Linked DNA regions of Homo sapiens: region 2 is linked to region 1. Evidence: promoter capture Hi-C in 16 types of primary human blood cells and fetal thymus (Javierre and others, 2016). All regions are on one chromosome and are shown on one strand. Each heading gives the region's core, a stretch centred on a gene start or on the middle of the fragment in contact. The rest is flanking DNA. Distances are from core to core; before and after follow the strand shown. Region 1 holds the start of ZBTB46-AS1 (ZBTB46 antisense RNA 1). Region 2 overlaps DNAJC5 (DnaJ heat shock protein family (Hsp40) member C5).

Evidence for each region. The method cuts DNA at HindIII sites, captures the fragments that hold promoters and counts their contacts. A CHiCAGO score of 5 or more calls a contact.
Region 2: a contact is called between a fragment that was not itself captured here and the fragment with the promoter of ZBTB46-AS1 in region 1, in 1 of 17 cell types (monocytes). The highest score is 5.4, in monocytes.

Annotation. Positions count from the first base shown.
Region 1 is chr20:63,806,722-63,814,091 of GRCh38, reverse strand. It overlaps ZBTB46-AS1 (ZBTB46 antisense RNA 1), which reads right to left and starts at 6,016. Exons shown (of 3, transcript NR_110081.1): 1 at 5,937-6,016. The region is part of intron 1 of ZBTB46 (zinc finger and BTB domain containing 46); the gene reads left to right. The HindIII fragment of the contact is 29,160 bases long and covers 1-7,370 here.
Region 2 is chr20:63,895,904-63,902,515 of GRCh38, reverse strand. The region is part of intron 1 of DNAJC5 (DnaJ heat shock protein family (Hsp40) member C5); the gene reads right to left. Among named protein-coding and RNA genes, the nearest start is that of DNAJC5, 4.1 kb to the right of the region's middle. The HindIII fragment of the contact is 9,931 bases long and covers 1-6,298 here.

The DNA of each region.
Region 1 (7,370 bases), core at 4,767-7,266:
CCGGCTAATTTTTGTATTTTTAATAGAGACAGGGTTTCACGATGTTAGCCAGGATGGTTTTGATCTCCTGACCTTGTGATCCACCCGCCTCGGTCTCCCAAAGTGCTGGGATTACAGGCGTGAGCCACCGCGCCCGGCCCTTCCCACTGTTTTTTCTCTCAAGTGTTTTAAAGCAAATCTCAGTTTTACCCTCGGTGCTTCGTTGTGTGTGGCTCACACGCAGCCGGGCACCCCGCAACACTTCCTCAGCGTCGCGATGCTGGGCTGGGCTCAGCGTTCTTGACTGTGGCCTGCACATTTTCACTGTGGCTTTACTTGAATCAGAGTTGGGATGAGGGCCATGTGCTGCTTGTGGGTGGTGATGTCCCTGAAGTTGCGTTTCTTCTCTCTGTTTCATGCTACTTATTTGCTGAAGGATCAGTTTTGGTTCTGTGACACTTCCTACCTGAAGGTCTGGCTGGGTGCATCCTTGTGACCTTGAACTCCTGCCTGAGCCGTCAGTAGAACCAGGTAGAGGCGGGAGGGCTGGGACTCGCCCGCGCAGGGCAGTGGCAGGGGAGCAGTTACTCTGGTGTGTAGCCACAATGCTTACATTGGAATTTCCAACTTAATGTATTTTATTTATTTATTTATTTTTTTTTTTTGAGATGGAGTCTTGCTCTGTCTCCAGGCTGGAGTATAGTGGCACAGTCTCAGCTCACTATAACCTCTGCCTCCTGGGTTCAAGTGATTCTCCTGCCTCAGCCTCCCGAATAGCTGGGATTACAGGCGCGCTCCACCACACCCGGCTAATTTTTGTATTTTTAGTAGAGACGAGGTTTCACCATGTTGGCCAGGCTGGTCTCGAACTCCTGACCTCAGATGATCCACCCGCCTCAGCCTCCCAAAGTGCTGGGATTACAGGTGTGAGCCACCGTGCCTGGCCCCAACTTAATGTATTTTAAAACACGGGTTGTTTCATATTTTGATGCCTGTTTTTGTTTTGTTTTGTTTTTTTGAGACGGAGTCTCACTCTCACCAGGCTGGAGTATAGTGGTGCGATCTCGGCTCACTGCAACCTCCGCCTTCCGTGTTCAAGCAATTCTGCTGCCTCAGCCTTCCAAGTAGCTGGGACTACAGGCACGCGCCATCACACCCAGCTAATATTTTTCTCTATTTTTAGTAAAGACGGGGTTTCACCATGTTGGTCGGGATGCTGTCAATGTCTTGACCTCATGATCCACCTGCCTTGGCCTCTCAAAGTATTGGGATTACAGGCATTAGCCACCACGCCCAGCCGTAGTTTTTGTTTTGTTTTGTTTTGTTTTTTGTTTTGAGATGGAGTCTGGCTCTGTCACCAGGCTGGAGTGCAGTGGGGTGGTCTTGGCTCATGGCAACCCCCACCTCCCGGGTTCAAGTGATTCTCCCGCCTCAGCCTCCCGAGTAGTTGGGATTACAGGCGCCTGCCACCACACCCAGCTAATTTTTTGTATTTCTTTTACTAGGGACGGGGTTTCCACATGTTGACCAGGCTGGTCTTGAACTCCTGACCTTGTGATTCGCCCGCCTCCACCTCCCAAAGCACTGGGATTATAGGCGCGCACCACATTGCCTGGCTAATTTTTTGTATTTTAGTAGAGACGGGGTTTTACCATGTTGGCCAGGCTGGTCTCGAACTCCTGACCTCGTGATTCGCCCGCCTCCGCCTCCCAAAGTGCTGGGATTACAGGTGCACACCACATTGCCCGGCTAATTTTTTGTATTTTTAGTAGAGACGGGGTTTCACTATGTTAGCCAGGATGGTCTTGATCTCCTGACCTCGTGATCTGCCCGCCTCAGCCTCCCAAAGTGCTGGGATCACAGGCCTGAGCCTCCTTGCCTGGCCTTGTGAAAAATTTTAATGTTAATTTTCTTATTTCAAGTTGATTTTCATTTAGTTTTTACTAAAAATGCAAATGTAGTTTACCGTTGCTTCTCTTTTTTTTATGTAGGAAAAGTTGATGCAAATTTTGCCTGAATTTGGAGTTTTCCTATTAGTGAGAGTTTTGTTCCGAAAAGATCGCCGCCACTTTGGTGGGTCAGCACTAAAGCCTTGTTTCAATATCTGCAGGGTCAGTTCTTTTGAATATTTTAATGCTTCCACGTTTGGAGTCTAAGAGCTATTTTTACTTTAGTTTTTTTTCCCAGGCAAGTACTTGGTCTGAACGATGTATGAGCCAGACCTGGCAGAAAAGTGGGAGTTGGTGAAATAGATGTGCTACTTAGTGACAGGGACTGTGATTCTAACATTTTGTCTTATGGCAGAGTTGGATGAAAGGGGTTTGTTCCTGCACCATGGCTCACCTGCCCAGTGAGTCCTGAGTCCTCATGTGGCAGGGAGTCAGACAGCAGCAGCTCTCTTCCCAGCGGGGTAGAGCTCACCTGGCTGCAAGGTGAGCCGGCTGGCCCGTCGCCCAGCTCAGAGCTGACCCTCACACGTGCAGATCTCTGCTGGGCCCAGGGGTCAGGGTCAGTTGTCTGCGTCACCTATGGGCCACCCCCTCTCTGCACCCCCGAGATCTTCCTGCTCTCTGCGTTGCCTATGGCTATGAGCACAGTGGGCTTCCTGGAAATACTTTCAGAGGAGGTGACAGTCGTATCCTTCCAGGGCCCCTCCTGCCCTGTGGAAGAACTTACTTCTGCTCCTGGAAGTCAGAAGCTGGGAGGCCTGGGGCTGTAGTGTCTTCTGTATGAGAGGTGGGGTGGGGCTGGGGAGAGGAAGGCTGCTTGACTCTTCTTCAGGGAGACCCACCCCATGGCAGCTCCGAGGTCCTAGTGGGCTGGTGGCTCGCATCTTGTCCACCTGTTGTCGTCTCTTGCCCCTAGGGGGGCTCATGCCCATCCTGTGGGGTTCTGGGACCCAGACTCGCCCCTGTGGGCTGGGCGGGGTGGGGCTCATGCCCATTCTGTGGGGTTCTGGGACCCAGACTCGCCTCTGTGGGCTGGGCGGGGTGGGGCTCATGCCCATCCTGTGGGGTTCTGGGACCCAGAGAGGCAGACTCTTCGCCTGCCTGTTGGGTTTGTGAAAAGTCAAAGAGAGTGGAACACGGACGCCGGCTGGTGCTCTCCAGTGTTCTCCGGCTCTGCCGCTGGAGCTCCTCGTAGGAGTGAGGAAAGAGAGTGGAGCCTGGACGCCAGCTGGTGCTCTCCGGCTCTGCTGCTGGAGCTCCTCGTAGGAGTGAGGAAAGAGAAACGTAGATTGCTCTCATGTTCGCGCTCTGTTCACCTCCTGGGTGCTGATTTCCTGTGGCGTCATCCTACCCTGCATCTGTGCTGGTGGGCACGTTCTCGCGTTTGTGTTTTATTTTTATTTATTTTTTTGTTTTTTGAGACAGAGTCTCACTCTGTTGCCCAGACTGGAGTGCAGTGGCACAATTTTGGCTCACTGTAACCTCTGCCTCCCATGTTCAAACGATTCTCCTGCCTCTGCCTCCCTAGTAGCTGGGATTATAGGTGCGTGCCACCACGCCCAGCTAATTTTAATATTTTTAGTAAAGACAGAGTTTCGTTATGTAGGCCAGGACGGTCTCAAACTCCTGATCTCATATGATCCACCTGTCTCAGCCTCCCAAAGTGCTAGGATTACATTTGTGTTTTATGAATAAGGACCTTGGTTTGCGAGGGGAAGGGGGGTTTTGGTGCCTATCCTGAGTGTGGTCGGTGTGTGTGAGCTTGTGCAGACACGACCAGCTGGGCTTTCTGTTCTCATTTCTTCCCGTTAATTTCTGATAAACTTCTAAGCATCCACGTGACTGGCATTTTTAATGTTCCTGGAATTGGGTTTTGCTCAGTTTTAATACTTGACGGTTTTCTGGGCCATCTTCGAATTGTCGAGTGTTTGGGTCTTTTTCTGTTTGTCACTGTTAGCCATAGCAGTGCTTGGAACATCTTGGAACCAATTAGCTTTTTGGGTTATTTCCTTGGGGCAGAGTCTCAGAAGTGGAATTAGTCAAAGAGGCAGAGGCATCTGTAGGCCTCATCCCCACGCTGCAGGCTGCTTCAAGGGCCGCCCCACTCTGGGCCTCCTGTGTCACGGCCACCTTTGTAATTGACATTACGTTAATGTTTGCCAGTTCCATGTATTTAGAGTTTTCTTTTCTTTTTTTTTTTTTGAGAGAGGGCCTTGCTGTGTCACCCATGCCGGAGTACAGTGGTGCCATCTTGGCTCACTCCAACCTCGACCTCCCGACTCAAGGGATCCTCCCACTTCATCCTCCAGAGTCGCGGGGACTACAGGTGTGCACCACCATGCCCGGCTAATTTTTTCTATTTTTTGTAGAGATGGGGTCTCACCATGTTGCCCAGGCTGGTCTTGAACTTTTGGGCTCAAGCCATCTGCTCGCCCCGGCTTCCCTCAGCGTTGGGATTTCAGGCATGAGCCACCATTCTGGCCTGGCCTTGAAATCTTTTCTCAGAGTTAAGCACGTGTCTTTTAAGTCCTTTCCAGAAATCTTTAAAATTGTATCATTGAGTTAAGCCACACTGGCCACCACACGGCTAACTTCGTAAGGGAGAAGAGGGGAGAGGAAGGGAGGTCGCGGAGCTCCTGCTGTCTCCCGGAGTCCTCTCCACCTGCTGGGCTCTGGCAGGTTTGCTGAGGACCGCGTGAGGGCGCTGCTGTCTTCTGGGCTCAGGGCTCCTGTGAGCTCCTGAGGCCTGGACCCAGGGGTGGCCTTTGTTGCTCCCTTGGGCATAATATGGGGGGACACAGGCAAGATGTGGGGCCACCACCCCAGCAGGCCTGTGCCGAACCCCAGGACCCCATTCCTGGAATAGACGCGGCCATGAGGACTGGACGCGCTGGGCGTGGCCCACGGCGGGGCCCCCAGGGCTGCGCCCCCAGGGCTGCTGACCTTGCCCCCCTTGGCTCCACCGAGTCTGCACCTTTAGTGCCCACTTCGGCCAAGCCCATGGCGAAGTGCCCCAGGCGCTGCGGTCCCTGCGAAGGGGAACGTGGAAGGCGAACGTGGAGAGCCCCTTGAGTGCCTCTGCAGCACCGGAGCACCGAGCCGCCAGCTCCCAGGTCTTACCTCATGAATCATGGAGTTTTCTTTCTTTTTTTTTTTTCTTTTTCTTTTTTTTTTTTTTTTTTTTTTTGAAGCGGAGTCTCGCTCTGCCGCCCAGGCTGGAGTGCAGTGGCGCCATCTCGGCTCACCGCAAGCTCCGCCCCCCGGGTTCCCGCCATTCTCCTGCCTCAGCCTCCCGAGTAGCTGGGACTGCAGGCGCCCCCACCACGCCCGGCTAATTTTTTTTTGTATTTTTTAGTAGAGACGGGGTTTCACCATGTTAGCCAGGATGGTCTTGATCTCCTGACCTCACCATCCGCCCGCCTCGGCCTCCCAAAGTGCTGGGATTACAGGCGTGAGCCACCGCGCCTGCTGGTTTTATTTCTTAAGGCGGCCTTGGCGCCTGTCCTGGCCGAGCGCTGGACCGAGGAGGGCCTTCTCTGGGGGAGGCTCTGTCCGCCTCCCACCCACGCTGGAGGAGCTCAGGTCTCATGGGGAGGCAGGACTCGCTTAGGGGCGGGAGGTCACACTGCCCCGGAGCCCAGGCCCTGCCCTAGGAGGAAGAGCCTGGCTTCCCCCTTCCCTCCCGCCGGGCCCGGGGCTGAGACTCCTTGTGGGTCCGGATGACCCTGTCCGTGACCTCCGCCCTGGCCCCGCTTCCGCCCCACGCCCCCCTGAAGCCCCGGGCTCCGTGGCGTCTGCCTTCCGGGCCCTCCCCTGCGCTCAGCCCCCGGGGCAAGGGCTGGGAAGGATGGCTTGACTGGCCTACAGGGTACAGGGGACCCCTGACAGGTTCATCGCTGGGGCCCCATGGGCCCCCCCTCCGTCTGTGCCGTGCGGATGTGGAGACTGAGGACTCCTCCATCGAAGGCGGCCGGTGGTGAAATCCAGTAATCTGGGTGGGGTCCTTACCGCGCTGTCCGCGGGGTTTCCTCACTGCTCAGGCGGCTGCTGCTCATCCACGCCACCTCCGTCGGTCCGTTCAGCTTCCGTGAGTGTCCCCTGTGGGAAGGTCCGTTCAGCTTCCGTGAGTGTCCCCTGTGGGAAGGTCCGTTCAGCTTCCGTGAGTGTCCCCTGTGGGAAGGTCCGTTCAGCTTCCGTGAGTGTCTCCTGTGGGAAGGTCCGTTCAGCTTCCGTGAGTGTCCCCTGTGGGAAGGGCCTGTGCCGCACAAGGTGGGGACTTGGGCACACGGCCTCGGAGGCCAGACACCGGGCGAGCCCCGCTCTGGGAGTGAGACCCGCTCGGAGGGGGAGCGAGCCCTGAGGCGCCGCCTGTAAGCCAGACCCGCTGCCTCACACAGACGGGTGCTTCGCTTGTTTTGGCCTAGTACAGCTTTTAAGCAAAAAGTAACTGGTTAGGGATTCTATCATATTGCTTGATGTAAACAAATGCGGCAAAATGTTAAAAAATGGAGTAGCTGAAGGCCGGGCGCGGTGGCTCACACCTGTAGTCCCAACACTTTGGGAGGCCGAGGCGGGCAGATTGCTTGAGGCCAGGAGTTCGAGACCAGCCTGGCCAACATGGTGAAACCCCGTTCCTACTAAAAATGCAAAAATTAGCCAGGTATGCTGGCGTGCGCCTGTAGTCCGAGATACTGGGGAGGCTGAGGTGGGAGAATCACTCGAACTCGGGAGGTAGAAGTTGCAGTGAGCCAAGATGGCGCCACTGCACTCCAGCCTGGGTGACAGAGCGAGACCAAACTGACTCAAGAAGAAACAGAAAATCTGAATAGACCTATAACAAATAAAGAATCAGTAGTCAAAAAACTTCCAATGAAAGAAAAGTTCAGAAACTTTCACTACAGTTATTGTACTTTTTAGCTTCCAAAAAGAAAAGTCAATTTCAATAAAGAAATTGAATCAATAGTCAATAAACTTCCAACAAAAGAAAAGTCCATCTCTGTCTCTCTCTATATATGTATATGATTGTATATATCACTTCACTGTTGAATTCTATCAAACATTTTAAGAATTAACACCAATCCTGGCCAGGCGTGGTGGCTCACGCCTGTAATCCCAGCACTTTGGGAGGCCGAGGCAGGTGCATCATGAGGTCAGGAGATCGCGACTATCCTGGCTAACACGGTGAAACCCCGTCTCTACTAAAAATACAAAAAATTAGCCGGGTGTGGTGGCGGGCGCTGGTAGTCCCAGCTACTCAGGAGGCTGAGGCAGGAGAATGGCGTGAACCTGGGAGGCGGAGCTTGCAGTGAGCCGAGATGGCGCCACTGCACTCCATCCTGGCCGACAGAGCGAGACTCCATCTCAAAAAAAAAAACCAAAACAAAACAATTAGCTGGGCGTGGTGGTGGGCGCCTGTAGTCCCAGCTACATGGGAGGCTGAGG
Region 2 (6,612 bases), core at 84-2,583, 93 kb before region 1:
ACGCCTGTAATCCCAGCTACTCAGGAGGCTGAGGCTGGAGAATCACTTGAACCCAGAAGGCAGAGGTTGCGGTGAGCCAAGATCACACCGTTGCACTCCACCAGCCTGGGAAACAAGAGTGAAACTCCGTCTCAAAAAAAAAAAAAAAAAAAAAAAAGATGAGGCCAGGAGCAGTGGCTCACGCCTGTAATCCCAGCACTTTCGGAGGCCGAGCTGGGCGGATCACAAGGTCAGGAGATCGAGACCATCCTGGCTAACACGGTGAAACCCCATCTCTACTAAAAATACGAAAAATTAGCCGGGCGTGGTGGCGGGCGCCTGTAGTCCCAGCTACTCGGGAGGCTGAGGCAGGGGAATGGCGTGAACCCGGGAGGCGGAGCTTGCAGTGAGCCGAGATCGCGTCACTGCACTCCAGCCTGGGCGACAGCACAAGACTCTGTCCCCCACCCAAAAAAAAAAAGCATTATTATTTTAAAGAACACATCAAGAAAGAACTAACAAAATTTATTGCGACTGGCAAAAATGTAAAATCTCAGATTTTAACAGCTAGTCCTATCGCAGCAGCTAAAAGAACACCAAAGTGCTGTGGTAAAAGGCCCCGCAAGCAAAGGGGAAAGACAGACACCATCTGAGGGCTACGAACTTGGCAAGAGATGACAGAAGCTACAGTCTGTACTCCTGGACCCAGAATTTCCTTCGTTATTTGTCTTAGGGAAACCTTCTTACAATAAAACACAATCCTATTTAATAAAGAAAAATCCGATGGGACTGCTCAGCAAAGATCCAAACATTCGCTCTGCTGCTAATCCCTCCCAATAACAGGAGGAGCAAAATAAAAGCCAGGCAGGGCCGCACACTCCACACACTCCCTCTGCTGAGCTGCAGTCACTCCTCCCGTCAGGCACCTGCAGCCTCGTCCGGGGTAGAGGCCTCTGGCCTGGGCTCGCCTCCACTCTGAGACTGATGTGGAGCGCGCGGACGCAGCCTCTGGCACCTGAATTCAGCTCCTGCTTCTTCAAGGGTCAAGAGTAAGACGGGATATTTTCGTTCTGCAGTTTCACTAGAACACATTTCCACCCTACCTGGTGAAAAAATAGAGGCACAGGGCAGGGAGAGCTCTCCCCGAAGTCAGCCGCGCTCTAGAGACAGCAAGGAGGGCAGGGCACAGCCGATGGGGCTGGGAAGTCGATTCCATCTTCCGACCTGCCAGCATCATGATTTCATAACAGGCACAGAATGCCTCAGAACGCAGATTGAGCACAGTGGCTCATGCCTGTAAACCCAGCACCTTGGGAGGCCAAGGTGGGTTGATTACTTGAGTTCAGGAGTTTGAGACCAGCCTGGACAACATGGTGAAACCCCATCTCTACTAAAAATACAAAAATTAGCTGGGCGTGGTGGCACACGCCTGTAATTCCAGTTACTCAAGAGGCTGAGGCAGAAGAATCACTTGAACCCGGGAGGTGGAAGCGGCAGTGAGACACGATCGTGCCACTGCACTCCAGCCTGGATGACAGAGCGAGACTCCGTCTCAAACAAACAAAGAATCCCTGGACACAGCAATGCAGACACTACATGGCTCTGGACACTTCACCTCGTAAATGATTATTTCTGCTGGTGATACATGTTCAATGTAGAATATTTAAAGGGACAATACAATTATAAACCCATGAAAAATAAGATTCATTCACATCCATATTCAAGGAATCTTCACTAAGCACTCACAACACAACACAAAAATTTAAAAATGTCACTCAGGTTTAATATGTCAAGAATAAATGACAAAGTTCTCTGTCATAGAAATAAGTTTTTTGAAACCATTCATGCAAAATGTAGAATGATGTTGCAACAAAGTTAAATTGTGGCATATGCAGGTCTGTCCTGAGGAGGAAATTATTGATCAATACAGAACTTCCTTTTTTTTTTTTTTTTTTTTTTTGAGACAGTGTCTTGCTCTGTCGCCCAGGCTGGAGTGCAGTGGAGCAATCATGGCTTGCTGCAGCCTCAGCCTCCCAGGCTCAGGTGATCCTACCACCTCAGCCTCCGAGTAGCTGGGACTACAGCTGCATGTCACCATACCCGGCTAATTGTTTCTAGTTTTAGTACAGATGGGGTTTTGCTATGTTGCCCAGCCTGGTCTTCACTTCTGGACTCTAGCAATCCGCCTGCCTCGGCCTCTCAAAGTGCTGGGATTACAGGCATGAGCCACTGCACCAGCCCAGAATTTTCAGAGACATGTCCCAAACCTGGTCTAAGTACTTCTTTCTTTAGAAAATGAGATGCTGGTTGGACGATCACTTGAGTCCAGGAGCTCAAGACCAACTTGGGGCTGGGCTCAGTGGCTCACGCCTATAATCCCAGCACTTTGGGAGGCCAAAGTGGGTGGATCACCTGAGGTCAGGAGTTCAAGACCAGCCTGGCCAACATGGCAAAACCCCATCTCTACTAAAAATACAAAAATTAGCCGGGTGTCATGGCAGGCGCCTGTAATCCCAGCAACCCAGGAGGCTGAGGCAGGAGAATCACTTGAACCTAGGAGGCAGAGGTTGCCATGAGCGGAAACCGTACCGTTGTACTCAAGCCTGGGTGACAGAGTGAGACTCCGTCCCCCAACCAAAAAAAAAAAAAAAAAAAAGCCCAGGCGCAGTGGCTCACACCTGCAATCCCAGCACTTTGGGAGGCCAAGATGGGCGGATCACAAGGTCAGGAGATCGAGACCATCCTGGCTAACACCGCGAAACCCTGTCTCTACTAAAAATACAAAAAATTAGCCTGGCGTGGTGGCGACCGCCTGTAGTCCCAGCTACTCGGGAGGCTGAGGCAGAAGAATCACTTGAACCCAGGAGGCAGAGGTTGCAGTGAGCCAAGGTCACGCCACCGCACTCCAGCCTGGGTGAGAGAATGAGACTCCGTCTCAAAAAAACAAAAGAAAATGAAATGCTGTCCTAATTTCTGCAATTTCAATTTGAAATATCAATGCTTGCAAAACTCATACAAGTTAAAACAATTTTTATTTCTAATGACCTGTATCTATTAAATGTCTGTGATGTACCAAGAATAAAGCAGAACACACTTCCTCATTAACACACATGCACCCAAAGTTAATGCAAAGGGTGATGAGAGACAAAATCTACACTCAAGGTTGTTGGGTAATCTAATCCTTAAATCTTCTGGGTTGAACTGCCTGTGACTGATAACAGACTAGCTGCTAATCCTCTTCAGGGATGTCATTATCTGAGGGGTCCTGGCATGGCAGTCCCAGCTCCTAGATTAGGGGTGGCATTTTCATAAAACAAGACTATTACTGTTTTTCAGCCTCTTTGTCCCTTCTATTTAGGAAGCAGGTGATGAGACACCTTTCATTTACTGCCTCCTTTTTTCTCCCAGCAGGACGCAGGGGAAGCACCACTACCCTCATCTGACAGAACGCAGAGGCTCAGAGTCACAGCGGCCCCAGTCACGTGAGCCCTGATCTTGTCCTCTTTCACGAAGGAAGGCCTAGCACAGATTCTGCTGCCACAGTGGGAAGGCCTATGGCGGGGCAGGAGGTGTGTCTGACAGAAGACGGTGCTTCTTGGACACATCTCAGGACTTTGTGGCACGAGAACGTTCTAATCAGAACATCACGATGAGTCTCACCTTAGAAGCACTGCAGTTTGTTTGTTTGTTTGTTGTGAGAGGGAGTCTCGCTCTGTCGCCCAGGCTGGAGTGCAGTGGTGCTATCTCAGCTCACTGCAACCTCTGCCTCCCGGGTTCAAGCAATTCTCCTGCCTCAGCCTCCCTAGTAGCTGGAATTACAGGTGCCCGCCACCACACCCAGCTATTTTTGTATTTTTAGTAGAGACAGGGTTTCACCATGTTGGCCAGGATGGTCTCGATCTCTCGATCTCAAGATCTGCCCGCCTCGGCCTCCCAAAGTGCTGGGATTACTGGTGTGAGCCACCGTGCCCGGCCTAGAAGCACTCATTCTAACTGCCCACTTGGAGATAACTGGAGTGTTAAGGGTCTCTTCTCTATGTCTTGTGCAGGGCTAGCCACCATGTTCCATTTCTCTACAAATGGCTTTTTCCAACCCAGCCCGAGGACCCAGGGGTCTGTTTCCTTCCTGGAGAAATACTGCTTTCATTTGCTGTTACAGTTTACCTGCAGCATTACATACTCCTAACTGGGTATCACATTCACCTTACTGCCTGATTTCAGAAGCAAACTCCACCTCAGATAAAATTCTACCTTATCATGACTCCCCGCCCCACTGCATTTTAGTCATTCATTCAACAAACACCAACTGCTAACCCCAGGCACACACGTGAGCACCTCACATCTGGGCTCTAAGGATAAAACCACCAGCACCTTGTACAGGGCTCTTCCTGGTGATGCCAAATACTTAGAAGAAACCTGGTCTAGAGAAGACTCGAGTTCAAGTTCCAGCTCTGACGATTGTTAACAGGGAGACCTTGGGCAAAGGTGCTGGTCACGGAGGCAGCTGTACAACCAGGCTCAGTGGTATCCACCCTCCAAGCAAGGGGAACTGAGGAAAAATGCCTGAGAAACGTGCAGCGTCTGTTCAATCTCTGAACCACGTTAATACAACCATCTTCAGGGATGCAGGAAGGCCCTGAAGCCCACTCACTCTGAGTTAATGTAGGCATGAGGTGGAGGCTGTGGAAAGGACTCCAGAGTCTGCAAGTCACCAAGCAGCCTCTGTGGCTCTGTCACAGCACCACAGCTGAAGGGCCTCATGCTAAGGGGATCAGCCACAGTCACTCTCAGGCAGTCCTCCTGAATTAAGAGCCAGGGAGATCATTCCACCTCACTCTACTTAATTACCAAATGTCACGACGGAGTATAAGGACTAGCATGTAGGGTTTTTCCTGGTAATCAAAGACAAAATTTCTAAAAGCATTATTACCACTGGCAGATCTGACTTTTTATTTATTTTTATTTATTTGAGACTGAGTCTTGCTCTACCACCCAGGCTGGAGTGCAGTGTGGCGTGACCTTTGCTCACTGCAACCTCCACCTCCCAGGTTCAAGGGATTCTCCTGCCTCAGCCTCCTGAGTAGCTGGGATTACGGACGCCCACCACCACAACCAGCTAATTTTTATTTTTATTTTTTTTATAAGATGGAGTTTTGCTCTTTTTGCCCAGGCTGGAGTGCAGTGGCGCGATCTCGGCTCACTGCAACCTCCGCCTCCTGGGTTCAAGTGATTCTCCTGCCTCAGCCTCCCTAGTAGCTGGGATTACAGGCACACGCCACCACACCCAGCTAATTTTGTATTTTTAGTAGAGATGGGGTTTCACCATGTTGGCCAGGCTAGTCTCGAACTCCTGACTCCAAGTGATCCGTCCGCCTCAGCCTCCTAAAGTGCTGAGATTACAGGCATGAGCCACTGTGCCCCCAACAGATCTGACTTTTTAGAAACGTTTTAACTTCAAAATAATTATAGATTCAAAGTTGCGAAAAGATTTACAAGGGTCCCATGCACCCTTCCAAGCCACCCCTTACCTGGCTGTCTTTCCTCATTGGGCAGGTGAGAGATGGTGGCTCTCTGTCCTGAGGGCCAACACTCCAGGAACCCTTACCTCTACATGCTCAGTCCTCACCGACAAGGACTTCCGGGTGACAAGGCCAGCACCACGCACAGCTGCTGCTAAGCTCCTCACGTTCATTCACTGAACAAATATTTACTGGGCCCCGATCATGTGCCAGCAACTGTTTTTTTCACAAAACATTCTCTCCACGGACCTTACTAACTCACAGTAAAATATTAAGTATGATAAATGCATTAAGCAGGACACTAGGAGGATTCAGCGCTGTGGGAAAATTAAGCGAGGAAGGGAACTGGGTGGCAAGGCAGGCAGGCAGTCGCCAGGCTAGGGGGTTAAGGAACCAGGCATTCCAGGAAGATCCAAGGACAGAGCATGTGGCTCTGTTCAGAACTAGCAAGGAGGCTGATATGGCAGGTGCAGAGTGAGTCAGGGGCCAGTCTGAGGGTGGGTGGACTCAGACGCTGCAGGCTCATTAACACCCTCGCCAGGGGTGTCCCTCAGAGTCCACACAGCCAGCAACCAGAGCGGGCCCCTACAGCTCTCTGCTGGGCCAGACGCCAGCTGGAGCCACCCCGAGTCCTACAGCACCGACACAAGTGAAAGGGGAACTCAACCGAAACTTCCCCAAAGCCCTTAGATCCAGGCTTCTAATTTCATCTCTTGTTTGACAGACTACTCATTCCTGAAACTCAGCTGACATTTTTTTAAAAAGAGAAGCAAATAAACGAACATAAAATCTCAGAAGCTTTGAGTAAACTTTTGCCTTCAGGTAACCATGACAATAGTGGGAGCAATGTAACTGTTTTTGTCATTAGAATAGGTTTTTCTAAACAGGCAAATAAGGGCAGACGTGTCTAACCACCATCAAATCTTCCCAACCAAGCCTAAGCCGGAAAACAAAAATAAAGCTGAAATTTTTGCTTCCTTTTCCTGTATGACACAACTGAATGAATTTGAGAAATCATGGCTTCGGCACACGAAAAAGAGAGTCTTTAATCCAGACACTTAACACCAACAAGTTAGAACCTGAACGGACGAGTTCCTAATACTCTCCTTAAGAG